Linked DNA regions of Homo sapiens: regions 1, 3 and 4 are each linked to region 2. Evidence: promoter capture Hi-C in human tissues and cell types (Jung and others, 2019). All regions are on one chromosome and are shown on one strand. Each heading gives the region's core, a stretch centred on a gene start or on the middle of the fragment in contact. The rest is flanking DNA. Distances are from core to core; before and after follow the strand shown.

What was found. Contacts are between HindIII fragments. The study calls those that stand out against the background at their distance.
Region 1: a fragment that was not itself captured here is called in contact with the fragment with the promoter of GXYLT2 in region 2 in 2 of the 25 tissues and cell types used here (mesendoderm cells and stomach).
Region 3: a contact is called between a fragment that was not itself captured here and the fragment with the promoter of GXYLT2 in region 2, in 1 of the 25 tissues and cell types used here (spleen).
Region 4: a fragment that was not itself captured here is called in contact with the fragment with the promoter of GXYLT2 in region 2 in 1 of the 25 tissues and cell types used here (bladder).

What each region holds. Positions count from the first base shown.
Region 1 is chr3:73,113,119-73,116,082 of GRCh38, forward strand. LOC107986098 (a long non-coding RNA gene) reads left to right here. Exons shown (of 3, transcript XR_001740754.1): 2 at 1,104-1,218. Among named protein-coding and RNA genes, the nearest start is that of EBLN2, 53 kb to the left of the region's middle. The HindIII fragment of the contact is 3,247 bases long and covers 1-2,964 here.
Region 2 is chr3:72,886,612-72,889,572 of GRCh38, forward strand. GXYLT2 (glucoside xylosyltransferase 2) reads left to right here and starts at 1,435. Exons shown (of 7, transcript NM_001080393.2): 1 at 1,435-1,897. The coding sequence starts at 1,623. RefSeq lists silencers at 1,475-1,704, 1,805-1,934. The HindIII fragment of the contact is 12,200 bases long and covers 1-2,961 here.
Region 3 is chr3:73,087,985-73,091,365 of GRCh38, forward strand. No RefSeq gene overlaps it. Among named protein-coding and RNA genes, the nearest start is that of EBLN2, 28 kb to the left of the region's middle. The HindIII fragment of the contact is 5,374 bases long and covers 1-3,381 here.
Region 4 is chr3:73,044,706-73,047,942 of GRCh38, forward strand. It overlaps PPP4R2 (protein phosphatase 4 regulatory subunit 2), which reads left to right. Exons shown (of 9, transcript NM_174907.4): 3 at 2,481-2,651. Among named protein-coding and RNA genes, the nearest start is that of EBLN2, 15 kb to the right of the region's middle. RefSeq lists an enhancer at 3,203-3,237. The HindIII fragment of the contact is 3,331 bases long and covers 1-3,237 here.

The sequences.
Region 1 (2,964 bases), core at 106-2,605, 230 kb after region 2:
AGCCAAGATCACGCCACTGCCCTCCAGCCTGGGCGACAGAGCAAGACTCTGTCTAAAAAAAAAAAAAAAAAAAAAAAAGAGAGAGAGAGGAGAGTATTTGATATATAAGATTATTAAATATCTGCATTGCTTAAGCCATTCTTAATTGCAACCCAAAGCATTCTTAATTGATAAAGCTTCTTCAAAGAACTTGAATCCAGAATTCAGAGATGGTACATTATGGCTGTGGTTCATGCAAGGAAGATGTGCAACTCCAATTAGGGAACCCATCCTTAAAGGTATTCATCGTTCATCAAAATATTGGCTAGTGATGATAATCTATATGTTTGAAGTTAAAACAAAATGTTATGTATGTAGCCCCAGATGAGATGAGAATAGCATCAGTCAAACCCACAATGGGAGATATTCTACAGGATACCTGGCCAGCACTCATTAAGACTGTCAGGGTCATAAAAAAATGAAGAAACCCTGAGAAAATCTCACAGTACATGGGAGACTGTGGGGACATGATGACTCAATGCAATGTGGTAGCTTAGATTGGGTCCTGGAACAAACAAAAGGATATGAATGAAAAAATTGGTGAAATGTACCAATGTCAGTTTAGTTTTGACAAATCATGATAAGATGTTAATAACAGGGGAAACTGGCCTGGGGCAGTGGCTCACACTTGCAATCCTGGCATTTTGGGAGGCCGAGGCGGGTGGATCACTTAAGCTCAAGAGTTAGAGACCAACTTGGGCAACATGGCAAAATCTCATCTCTATAAAAAGATCCAAAAAAATTAGCTGGGGATGGTGGTGTGCACCTGTAGTCCCAGTTACTCAGGAGGCTGAGGTGGGAGGATCACTTGAGCCTAGGAGGTTGAGGTTGCAGTGAGCTATGATTGCACCACTGTACTCCAGCCTGGGTGACAGAGTGAGATCCTGTCTCAAATTAAAAAAAAAAAAAAAAAAAAAAAAGGGGAAACCAAGTGAGGGGTATAAGGAGACCCTCTGTGCTATCACTGAAACTTTTCTGTAAATCTAAAATCACTCTACAATAAAATGTTTATTTTCAAAAATATTGTGTATATATTTTTTTGTTTTTGTATCTCATCTGGACAGATTCTTGATTAATTCACCATTTCCCAGCCATTGGAATAAGAAGTGCCTCTGTAGCATTTGCTGGTGCTCACTCAGACATCTGCCTTTATTTTTGTGGACAAAGAAAAATTTACAGGTAACTTTCTCTCCCTTTCTAGTTTACAGCTCACAGCCAGCCTATCATAAAGCTGCTCGTAGTTTCAAAAAATTATTTCATTCATATATTTAAAATTTTCATTTATATTCTTTATTTACATCTTTTAAATGGAAATAATTTAATTTTTACTATTTAATTTATAACAATTACTTTTACTAACTTAACATTTAATTTTAAAATGTTATTTTATTGTATCAGGCTGGGAGAGAAGCTAAACAAATATGGTGGCCAGAGTTGAATTGTGCTATCTTTGCCTGTTGGTGGCCAGTGCCTTGGGGTTAATCCTTTCCTCTTGAGGTCCATGTCCGCTTGGGGAGATTGATCCACAACTTCATTCACATTGACTGGGGTGGGAAAATGACCCAGGCCAGTCACACACACAGCAGTCTGCTTGGGATAAGAGTCAGACTCAGGACTTTGCTGGAGTTCCCGGGAATGATGCCCTCTTTTTTGGCTGGGGATGCTAAGCTGCAAGATGTGCTCCTGGAGCTGGTGACATCTGTGCCATCATCAGAGCAGACGCCTGCCTGGCAAGGAACCCAGAGGAAAGTGGAACCCAGGCTTAGAGATGAGCCTTCCTGACATTGTTTGAGCATCTGGGATCCAGCTACGTTCAGATGGCTGGGCTTTTCCATGTACTGAGCCAATGAATTTCCTTTCTCTCTTTTTAAAGCCACATTGAGTTGGATTTCCATTTCTGTCACTTGCAACCCTAGCAGTTTTGTTGGAACAGTGGCCCTCACTGCTGTTTGATTATGGTGTGTCCTTCTTGGCCCTCCCATCATCCTGCGTGTGAAACCACACACTGCCAAGTATTGCTCAATATTCCTGATTGTGTTGGGTGGGCATCCTTGCTCTGCCCTCTCTAGCTGACAGCAAGTTAGAACCAAGGCAAATTCCTTAATTGCTCAGAGCTGTAGTTTCCTTGATTGTAAAATTGCGGGTTTGGGTGGGGGTGGGGAAGACACCCTCTATCAAGGGGCTGTTGGGAGAATGAAACGAAGTAATGTATGCGTGGCATTAACACAGTTTCATATTAAACATTTGCATTTGAGTCATTTTTATCACTGTTACTATAAATAAAAGGCAGGTTATCACAGGCAGCAATCCTACCTTTCTTCTCTTTGTATCTTCCACAATGCCTGGCTTATAGCTGGAGGTTGGAAAAAATTTTAAAGTGTTAAGGGCTTTTGTGCCAGTTTCTAGGAATAAAAAGATAAGTGAGACACAGTCTGTCCGTTCCAGTTCCTCAAGGCTGGGGGGAGCCATGGCCTGATTGAAGACCAATCAAGAATAAAGATATGGCGGGGTGAGGTGGCTCATACCTGTAATCCCAGTACTTTGGAAGGCTGAGGAGGGAGGATCACTTGAGTCCAGGCGTTCAAGACTAGCCTGGGCAACATAGTGAGACCCCGTGTCTATAAAAACTAAAAAAATTAGCTAGGTGTGGTAGGACACCCCTGTAGTCCTAGCTACTCAGGAGGCTGAGGCAGAAGAATCATTTGAGCCCAGGAGGTCGAGCTTGCAGTGAGCCATGATTGCATCACTGCACTCCAGCCTGGGTGACAAAGTGAGACTCTGTCTCTAAAAATAAGAAATTAAAAAAAGAATAAAAATAGAACATAACACATGGCAGTTCACTAAGGCAGCACACATTGAGCTGCTCCTGCCTGCCAGGCACCATGCTAAGAGAGCTACAGTGAATAAAGACAGGAGGCTCCTGCT
Region 2 (2,961 bases), core at 185-2,684:
CGGTGGCTCATGCCTGTAATCCCAGCACTTTGGAAGAACGAGACGGGCGGATCACTTGAGGTCAGGTGTTCAAGACCAGCCTGGCCAACGTGGTGAAACCCCGTCTCTACTAAATATACAAAAATCAGCCGGGTGTGGTGGCGCAGCCTGTAATCCCAGCTACTTGGGAGGCTGAGGCAGGAGAATGGCTTGAACCCGGGAGGCGGAGGCTGCGGTGAGTTAAGATTGCACCATTGCACTCCTGCCTGGGCTACAGAGTGATCCAAAAAAAAAAAAAAAAAAAAAACTGAAAAACTCAGGGACGTTGTTATAACTTAACTAGTGTTCTTTGTTCTGTGGTGTGCTGAAAAGAGAGTTAATGGAGTCCTGGCTGTCAGTTCACCGTGAGTCATAAGAGGATGTGTCCTAATGTTTCAGATTTGTAACTGGGGATCCCCTGGAAGAATCGTCTGGAAATTACGACCTTCATCTGGCGATTGCAGCTGTTAAAGTCTCCAAAGAAGCCATTCTTACATTGTGTTGTGAAATTATTACTCTATCTCAAATCTGTGCCAGAAAGAAAATAAAATGTGTGTTTATGTGTATATTATAAGCTATGTTTTATTGAACTAATCATTACAGAACTTTTATTGGGCACCGACTGTGAGCCAGGCACTGTGCTAGTTTCTTTGAAGGCATTATTTAATTTAATGCTCACAAAACGCCTCTGTAGTGAGCAGTATTGTCATTCCCATTTTGCACGTAAGGAAGTTAAGGCTTAAGAAAGTTGTGCAGCTTCCTCAGGATCACCAAGCCAGTTAAGCACAGTGTCAGATTTCAAATCCAAACTTTGAAATTCATTCTCTAATTTCTTCAGACTACATGGATCGGTTCGGTCCAGTCTAGCTGTCCCAAGTTCTACTTTGGTGTTTTGAGTCTGAAACCCCAACTACTAATCACGTGTTACTTTTACTCGCTTTGCCTTATTTTGCATGTGTCCTTGTTGAATATGTCCTCCTCCAGGAAAAAGGGAGGTGGCAAGACAGAGGCGGCAATAGGGGTTTATTCAACAGATATTTATTGGGCACCACCACCCGCAGATCCCTGCACTGGGCAAACAGGACAGAGATGTTCCTGCCTGAAAGGATGTGTGGATAAGTGCACAAATGTGTGGATAGATGGATAAAATAAATAAGGAGGAAGCACATGGAATACATCAACAAATAAGTGAATCATGGTATGAGAGAATCAGCGGGAACAGTGGATGGCATGGGTGTGTGAGTGAATGGGGAAGTAAACGAACGAACGAACGAATGAATGAATGAAGTGGTTTTGAGTCTGAGCTACCAGAAGCCCGAGAGCCTGGCTGCGGGCGGGCGGAGGGGCGGCTACTCCACACAGTACGGTAGGCGCAGGCTGCTCCTCCTGTAACCCAGCTCTCACCGCCTCCCCCTCCTCTCCTCTCTCTCCTCCTCCTTCGCCGTCGCCGCCGCCGCCGGCCGCCCGCCGGCCGCCACGACCCCAGTCCCCGGCGGGCGGGCGGAGGAGGCGACCGCCGCGCGCTGCTGCACTCATCCTGCCGCCGCCGCGATGCGCAGAGGGGCCGAGCCGCCTGGGGGCCGCCGCCGCCGCCGCGCCGCACCATGAAGCTCCGCAGCAAGGCGGCGGCGCTGCTCTTGCTCGCGCTGGCCGCGCTGCTGCTGGCGCTGCTGTCCCTGCGCGCTGGCCGCGCTGAGCCCCCAGCGCTGCCCGCGCGCCCCGCGTCCGCCCCGCAGCGCCACCCCGCGCCTGTCCCCGCGCGCTGGCCGGGGCCGGGCGCCCTCCCCGGGGCCAGCCCGGGAGTTCGGAGGCGCCGGCCCCCGCGTCCGCGCCCCCGAGCGGGCCGCCGGGGCGCTGCGAGACTGGAGAAGTTGGCGAGGTGAGTCGTGGCAACCCCAGAATCCCATCTGCGGACCCGTGTCTCGCTCCCTACACCCGTGCCAAGTCCAAGGGAGGCTTTGCGCTGGAGAGACAGATTTCCAAGTTTCACCCACGGGCTGCCCACTTCTGTTTCTTAACCCGATAGAAAAGAAGACCCACCTTGGTGGAGTCCCCCTAACAGCTCGGTGTTGATAATCACGTACATTTTTTGAAGTGTCAAGGAAAGTGGTTTCGTACATTACATTTTTTAACTGTCAAGGCAAGGCGTATTTTTGCACTCTTGCAAACATGCACCCTTTGTTTAATTTGTCAAAAGCCATCACGGTGCAAGAATGTTTTATCTAATTCTCATGTTTCACTGGAGAATTTTACCGAAACCTTAGATATGGTTGAGTTGGAAAAGTTAGATGTTTACCAAGGACTGGCAGCCTCTCATTTAACCTCGAGTACCCCCATGCTTAGAACAGAAGGGACACTTGACCTAAGTTTATTAAAAAGAAGTTTTCTCCTTGAAAGGACTGATGCGTGGCACAGAAAAGACAGAGTGGGGGTTTCCAGATCCTCATTCTGTTTCAGGCTCGAGTGTGGTCAAAGGGTCCTCCTACAAGAAAAACAACTTAACCTTCGACCTTCTGTTTGATACTCTCTTTCCCTACACAAAGCCTAACACGCGGAGGCTTTTCATCAGAGAGCTTTATTTTTGGCCTCAGGGTTGCTGGAACGCCCCGCAGGTTAGGGATTTGAGTTCATTTCCTTTGTTGTGGAGGGCTTTTCAACAATCCCCTTGTCTTGTAGCGAGTCTGTTTCATCTGCCCTTTCAAAACTGTTGTTTCTAACTGCCATTGCAACGTCCTTGTTTGCTGGGCTCCTTAATTTCAACCTGAAAGGAGTTGAAAAATTATTTTTGACCATAATGACTAAATCTCTTTGGTGCCTTTACTGTAACTAAAAGACACGAAACCTCAAGAAGTAGCTGTGTCAGCCTTTGTTTCCCTTCTGTCTCAGTACAAATGGGTACTGACAAGTTTTAGGGGGAAAAAACCCCAACAATCTGTCGCTTTA
Region 3 (3,381 bases), core at 43-2,542, 200 kb after region 2:
TCCCCTGATTTTCTTCTCAGACTGGTAACCATCATTCTACTCTCTACCTCCATGAAATCCACTTTTTCTTAGTTCCTGCATATGAGTGAGAACATGTGATATTTCTCTTTCTGTGCCCAGCTTACTTGACATAATGACCTCCAGTTCTATCCATGTTGCTGCAAAGGACAGGATTTCATTCTTTTTTATGGCTGAATAATATTCTACAGCATAAAATTCTGGATACATTTTGCAGATGGACCTGACAAGACTTGTTGACCGATTGAATATGGACTATGAAAGAAACATGAGCCAAGAAACATGAGCCAAGCAAGATTTTTGGCCAGAGTCACTGCCCTATATTGAGGTGGGGACGGGTCCACATGGGGCCACCTTTGGGAGCTGGGTCTTGAAAATATCGGAAATGCCTGCTGGACACATATCTGAGCTGTTGCATAGACAGGGGACATACAGGTAACTGACACAAGCAACCTCCTGTCTTTAGGCTTACCTGTTGGCCTGCTACAGGTGGGAGCTCTTCAGTTTAAGGGCGCTGGTGAAGAGGAGAAACAAAGGGAGGAACGTTCTAAACTTGTAAGCGCAAGATTGGGTCAGGGTTCAAGAGAAGACATGGAAACACGCAGAACAGGTGATCGCCGCTCAGAAGGCTGCTGAGAGAAGAGAGAGAAAGTGGATGTGTCAGTCTGGACTGAGACCCCGAGCAACCCCAGGGAAGGAGAAGGAGGCCGAGGGAAACCATATGAATCACTGGATTCAACTCAGAGAGATGCAGAAATCCCCAGAAATCATGGAGGGAATCGGAATGAGATGAGGTTACGTCTTCTTTCAGGTGGCATGGAGGAGTCAGGCTCGGAAGATAAATTTCCCCTCAAAAAATGCAAAGAAAAGAAAAAATTATTACGCACTTGATTGACAGCCCATATAATATATATATATATTTTTGTCTGAGACAGTGTCTCACTGTGTTGCACAGGCTGGAGTGCAGTGGTGCTATCTTGGCTCACCGCAGCCTCGACCTCCTGAGCTCAAGTGATCCTCCCACCTCAGCCTCCCCGGTAGCTGGGACCACAGGTGTGCACCACCACAGCCGGCGAATTTTTGCATTTGTAGTAGAGACGGGATTTTGCCATGTTGCCCATGCTGGTCTCGAACAGCTGGCCTTAAGTGATCCGCCTCCCTTGGCCTCCCAAAGTGTGATTATAGGCGTGAGCCACCATGCCTGGCCATGTATAATTATTAAAGTTTAAAAATTTGCAGGGCCTGGGAGTGAGTTCTTCTCTTGGCTCACCCTTGCTTGGCCCTGCTGAGGAACTCTTTGGTGTAGACTACACCCCACAGAGCTATTCTCCCAGTGGGGACACAACTGGGACATTTACCCACCAACACGGGTGAAGTGCTGCTTCTGAGGGGGGTTAATTCCCTGTGCTTCTGACCTGCCTTGTGGGTGGGCAGAGCAGACAGTGGCAGCCAAGGAAGCTCCCAGGTAAAGAAATGCAGGACGCCCAGGCGCGGTGGCTCACCCCTGTAATCCCAGCACTTTGGGAGGCCAAGGCAGGCGGATCACTTGAGGTCAGGAGTTCGAGACCAGCCTGGTCAACATGGTGAAACCCTGTCGCTAACTAAAAATACAAAAATTAGTCGGGCATGGTGGTGGGAGCCTGTAGTCCCAGCTACTCAGGAGGCTGAGGCTGGAGAATCTCTTGAACCCAGGAGGCAGAGGTTGTAGTGAGCCAAGATCGCGCCACTGCACTCCAGCCTGGGTGACAGAGCGAGAAAAAAAAAAGAAAGAAGAAAGAAAGAAAGAAAGAGAGAGAGAGAGAGAGAGAAAGAGAAAGAAAGAGGGAAAGCAAGCAAGAAAAAAGAAATGCAGGTTCTGGCCGTGGAGGGTGCATGTGCCCTGAGGTGGTGAGGACAGGGATGGGGTGGGGACACCGAGGGCATCCCATCCACTGATCCACTGGTGCCTTAAGTGCATCTTGGTCGCTGCTCCAGGGCTTCCTTCTCCACGGAAGCTCTAGGAATGGTTAATATTTCTCCTTTGGGTGAAGCCCCAAAGCCACCTTGTCCTACCTGGCCACGCTGCATCTGAGACCGGGATCCCCCTCCCGCAGCCCATCACCTATTTGATGGCAGGTTTCATTCCACTTTGCTCTTGCCCTCTAATCCCAAATTTTCTTTCCTCAGGATCTACGGCCCCAAGTTTTTCAACATTCCTCCCATCCTGGCACCAGACTGATGGCATACCAGTTCGCTGGTTAATATTCCTCTTAACACAGGTGCCCCGAGCTGGACACACCCCTAAGCTATAGTGAGATCACTGCAGAAATGAAGAGGCCATCACCACAGACCAGGAGCTGGCCGATTACAGCCCTGTGAGCTAAGAATGGGTTCACATTTTTTAAACAATTGGGGGGAAAATCAAGTGAAGAATGCTTCAAGACATGTGAAACTTACATGAAATTAAAGTTTCAGCATCTTCAATAAAGTTTTCTTGGCACGTGGCCACACCCATTCCTTTACTTACTGTCCATGGCTGCTTTTGAATTTCAAAGACATTGCTGAGGGTGGTGGGGATTGAGCTCTTACTAGCCTGAAAAGCTTAAATATTTACTCTCTGGTGCCTTGGGAAAATATTGGCCAAACCCAGACATGGAGTGATCCTGGATTTCTTTTGCCTGTTCAATTAAAAAAATTGACCTTAGCCGGGCGCGGTGGCTCACGCCTGTAATCCTAGCACTTTGGGAGGCTGAGGCGGGCGGATCACGAGGTCAGGAGATCGGGACCGTCCTGGCTAACACAGTGAAACCCCGTCTCTACTAAAAATACAAAAAATTAGCTGGGCGTGGTGGCGGGTGCCTGTAGTCTCAGCTACTCGGGAGGCTGAGGCAGGAGAATGGCGTGAACCCGGGAGGCGGAGCTTGCAGTGAACCGAGATTGCGCCACTGCACTCCAGCGTGGGCGACAGAGCGAGACTCCGTCTAAAAAAAAACCACAACTGAGCTTAATGTTTATATTGAAAGGCGAATGCAATCATATGATTCAAAATGTTAAAGACACCAAAAAGATTCCATCCCTTGCCCACCCAGTTCTCTTCTGTGAGGGTGTCCGGGGTTCCCAGCTCATACAGGTCCTTCCAGATACATTGTATGCAAATGTAATCAAATACCTGGACCTACGTCTTATCTCACTCTTGTTTACACAGTGGAAGCATCCAATAGAATTGTTCTGAGCTGTGTCTTTTTTTTTTTTTTTTTTTTTTGAGACAGAGTCTTGCTCTATCTCTCAGGCTGGAGTGCAGTGGCATGATCTCTGCTCACTGCAACCTCCACTTCCCGGGTTCAAGCGATTCTCCTGCCTCAGCCTCTCGAGTAGCTGGGATTA
Region 4 (3,237 bases), core at 413-2,912, 160 kb after region 2:
AAGATTAATGGTGTTAAGCATCTTGTGTGTTTGCTATTTGTATATCTTCTTTGGAGAAGTGCGTATTTAAGTACTTTGCCCATTTTTAAATTGGGTCATCTTTTTTGTTAAGTTGTAGGTGTTCTTTATATAATCTGGATATTAACCCCTTATCAGATAAAAGATTTGCAAATATTTTCTCCCATTTCACGATTTGACTTTCTGCTCTGTTGATAGTGTCCTTTGATGCACAAAATTTTAAATTTTGATGTAATTCAATTTATCAATTTTGTTGCTTGTGCTTTTGGTATCACACAGTATCTTTAAGAGACAGGGTCTTGCTCTGTCGCTCAGGCTGGATTCCAGTGGTGTGATCTTGGCTTACTGCAGCCTCTACCTCCTGGGCTCAAGCAATCCTGTTGCCTCGGCCTCTTGAGTAGCTGGGACTACAGGTGCATACCACCATGCCTAATTTAAATTAATTAGTAATTAATTATTTTGTAGAGACGGAGTATTGCTGTTTGCCCAGGCTGGCTTCCAACTCCTGGGCCCAAGTGATCTTCCTGTCTCGGCTTCCCAAAGTGCTGGGATTACAGGCGTGAGCCACCACACCTGGCCTCGTATAATATTTTTATGTCGACACTGGTTGCCTTCAGAATATTTTGGGACTATATCAGGAAGCTTTCAAGCTCACAGTGAAGAATAAAAATTGTCCAGACTTTTAGTTTTTTGCTTAGAAGTTCAAATTTTTATCATTGGTAACAAATACTGTCAGTTATTTATCTTGAAATGACAGGTTCACTTTATTTATTTTTGAGAAAATGTCTACCACATTCTCCTAATTTTTTTTTTTTTTTTGGAAATGGAGTCTTGCTCATCGCCCGGGCTGGCGTGCAGTGATGCAATCCTCAGCTCACTACAACCTCCACCTCCTCAGTTCAAGTGATTCTCCTTGCCTCAGCCTCCTGTGTAGCTGGGATTACAGGCATGCACCACCCCGCCTGGCTAATTTTTGTATTTTTAGTAAAGACAGGGTTTCACCATGTTGGCCAGGCTGATCTCGAACTCCTGACCTCAGGTGATCCGCCTGCTGGGTTTACAGGTGTGAGCCATCACACCCAGTCTGCTAATCTAAATAAGCTTTATTTGTGTGGCAGTCCTTTCAGGTTAAAATGCTGTTCTATGAAAAATAGCTAGTTCAGCTGGCAGCGGTCTAAATAAAGGTATTGTTCTTTGAGAATCTCATACCTCTTTGATATGCAGCATAATTTTTTTAATACCTGTTTCTCATTTTGTTACACAGAATATGTAAAAGATGTATTCAAGGGTTGGGATTTAATGAAATTAGTAATTTTTATATCTTTTACACTTTAAGTGGAACAGATTTTTAAAATTACGAGTTTGTGAAAATTCTGGCTTCTGCTACAGCTAGTAATACAGTTTGGTGCTGCTGTCCTGACTCTTGCTACATGGATTATCAGTTTTATCCACCTTGCTTTTATACCATCAGTGCACACATTAACAGTGAACTAGTCAGCCCTTATTCTTTTGACAATAGCTTTGACCTCTTGGACCACAATTTGAAAACTGCTACCCTAGTTTATAGGGTTGCTGCATGGGATGGAAGGTGATTACAGATGGGCTCCCGTTAATTTGTGTAAATTTGTTTAAGTAGTCAACCTGTGTAAAGAGATTGATCTGCTGTCACTAATGGTAGTACTGTCTGCCTGAGGAAATGGTTAGCATTCCTGACTCCCGTGTCTCCTGGAATTTACACTATTCAGGCAGGTATCCTCACAAAATTTCCTTTTATATTACTGGTGAAATGTGAGGAAAGAGGGATAAAAAGGTGTTTATGTTAATTTGATAAATGAATAGATGTGAAAAGTACCTAAGCAAATTATGTATTTTTATTGTGCAAGTACTGGTTGGATAGAACCTGTGATTATGTGCCTTAATCATAGGTACATGCCTTTTGTCTCTTAAGTGACAAAAGAGCCTGAAGATATTAACTGAAAGGGGAAAAAAAAGGAGAAAGTAAAGTTTATTTTGTTATTTAGTAGATAATAGACAAATTTTACTAGTCCATGCAAACATTGTAACTTGGATGATTAAGGTATGGATTCATTCTGACTTAATAGGATAGTGTAACTAATGCCCACCTGGTTAGGTTTGTTATGAGTGAAAGAGTCAAAATATTATTTTAAACATACTAAGAATAGGACCTAACACACCATAGACTTTCAGGCAGAGGTAGTTCATTTAAAAGATCTAAATGAGAGATCTGGGTTTTGTTTGGGTTGGGAGTTGGATAGCATCAGGATGGAGCTTGTGATAAATGAGGCATGATGTGTGCTCTTCAATGACGGCATTCTCATTACTAATTATTCACATCTTAATTTTGTTAGTATTAGTGTCATAGTATATTTTATATTTGTGTTTTGTGTTCAAGAATTGTGAAGCTACATGGTATTATATATTTTTTAATTTTTTGCTTATAGGATTCAGTGGTCCCAATTTAAAGGCTATTTTATTTTCAAACTGGAGAAAGTGATGGATGATTTCAGAACTTCAGCTCCTGAGCCAAGAGGTCCTCCCAACCCTAATGTCGAATATATTCCCTTTGATGAAATGAAGGAAAGAATACTGAAAATTGTCACTGGATTTAATGGGTATGCACTTAATACTGTTTTAAAGATTTAATTTTTAGCAGAAGATGAATAGATTTTTCTTTTAGTTTTGATGTGTCTGGTTGATGATTGATTATCCATTAGAATAAATTCCTTGTTTCTAGTGACATGTAGTAGTTGATGATTTTTAGCTTACAACTATTTAAAATATTTGTAGCCTCTTAAAAAACTTGAACCACCTTTTTATAGGTATCAGTGGAAACAGTCATTTATCAGGAAACATTTTAATGGTTTTTCTTTCCTGTTTTATATTTGGTGTTATGTCTTCATACTTTATATAGAACCTTTATATCATTGAGAAATCACATTTCTTTTAAAACGAAATACTAATTTATGGAAGTATTTTAGTGAGTTTTTGTTTAGACTTTTTTTGGAGTCATCATTTCTCTCCTAAGTAACGGCTTGCTTGTTAGTTACAAGTAACCATTTTTGGCCGCTTGTAAAACATTAAAAACACTAAAAAGATATTCTGTACAAAAGTAAAACTCCCCGGTTTTTTTGTTTTGTTTTGTTTGTTTTTGAGAAGGTGTCTCGCTCTGTCACCTAGGCTGGAATACAGTGGCGTGAT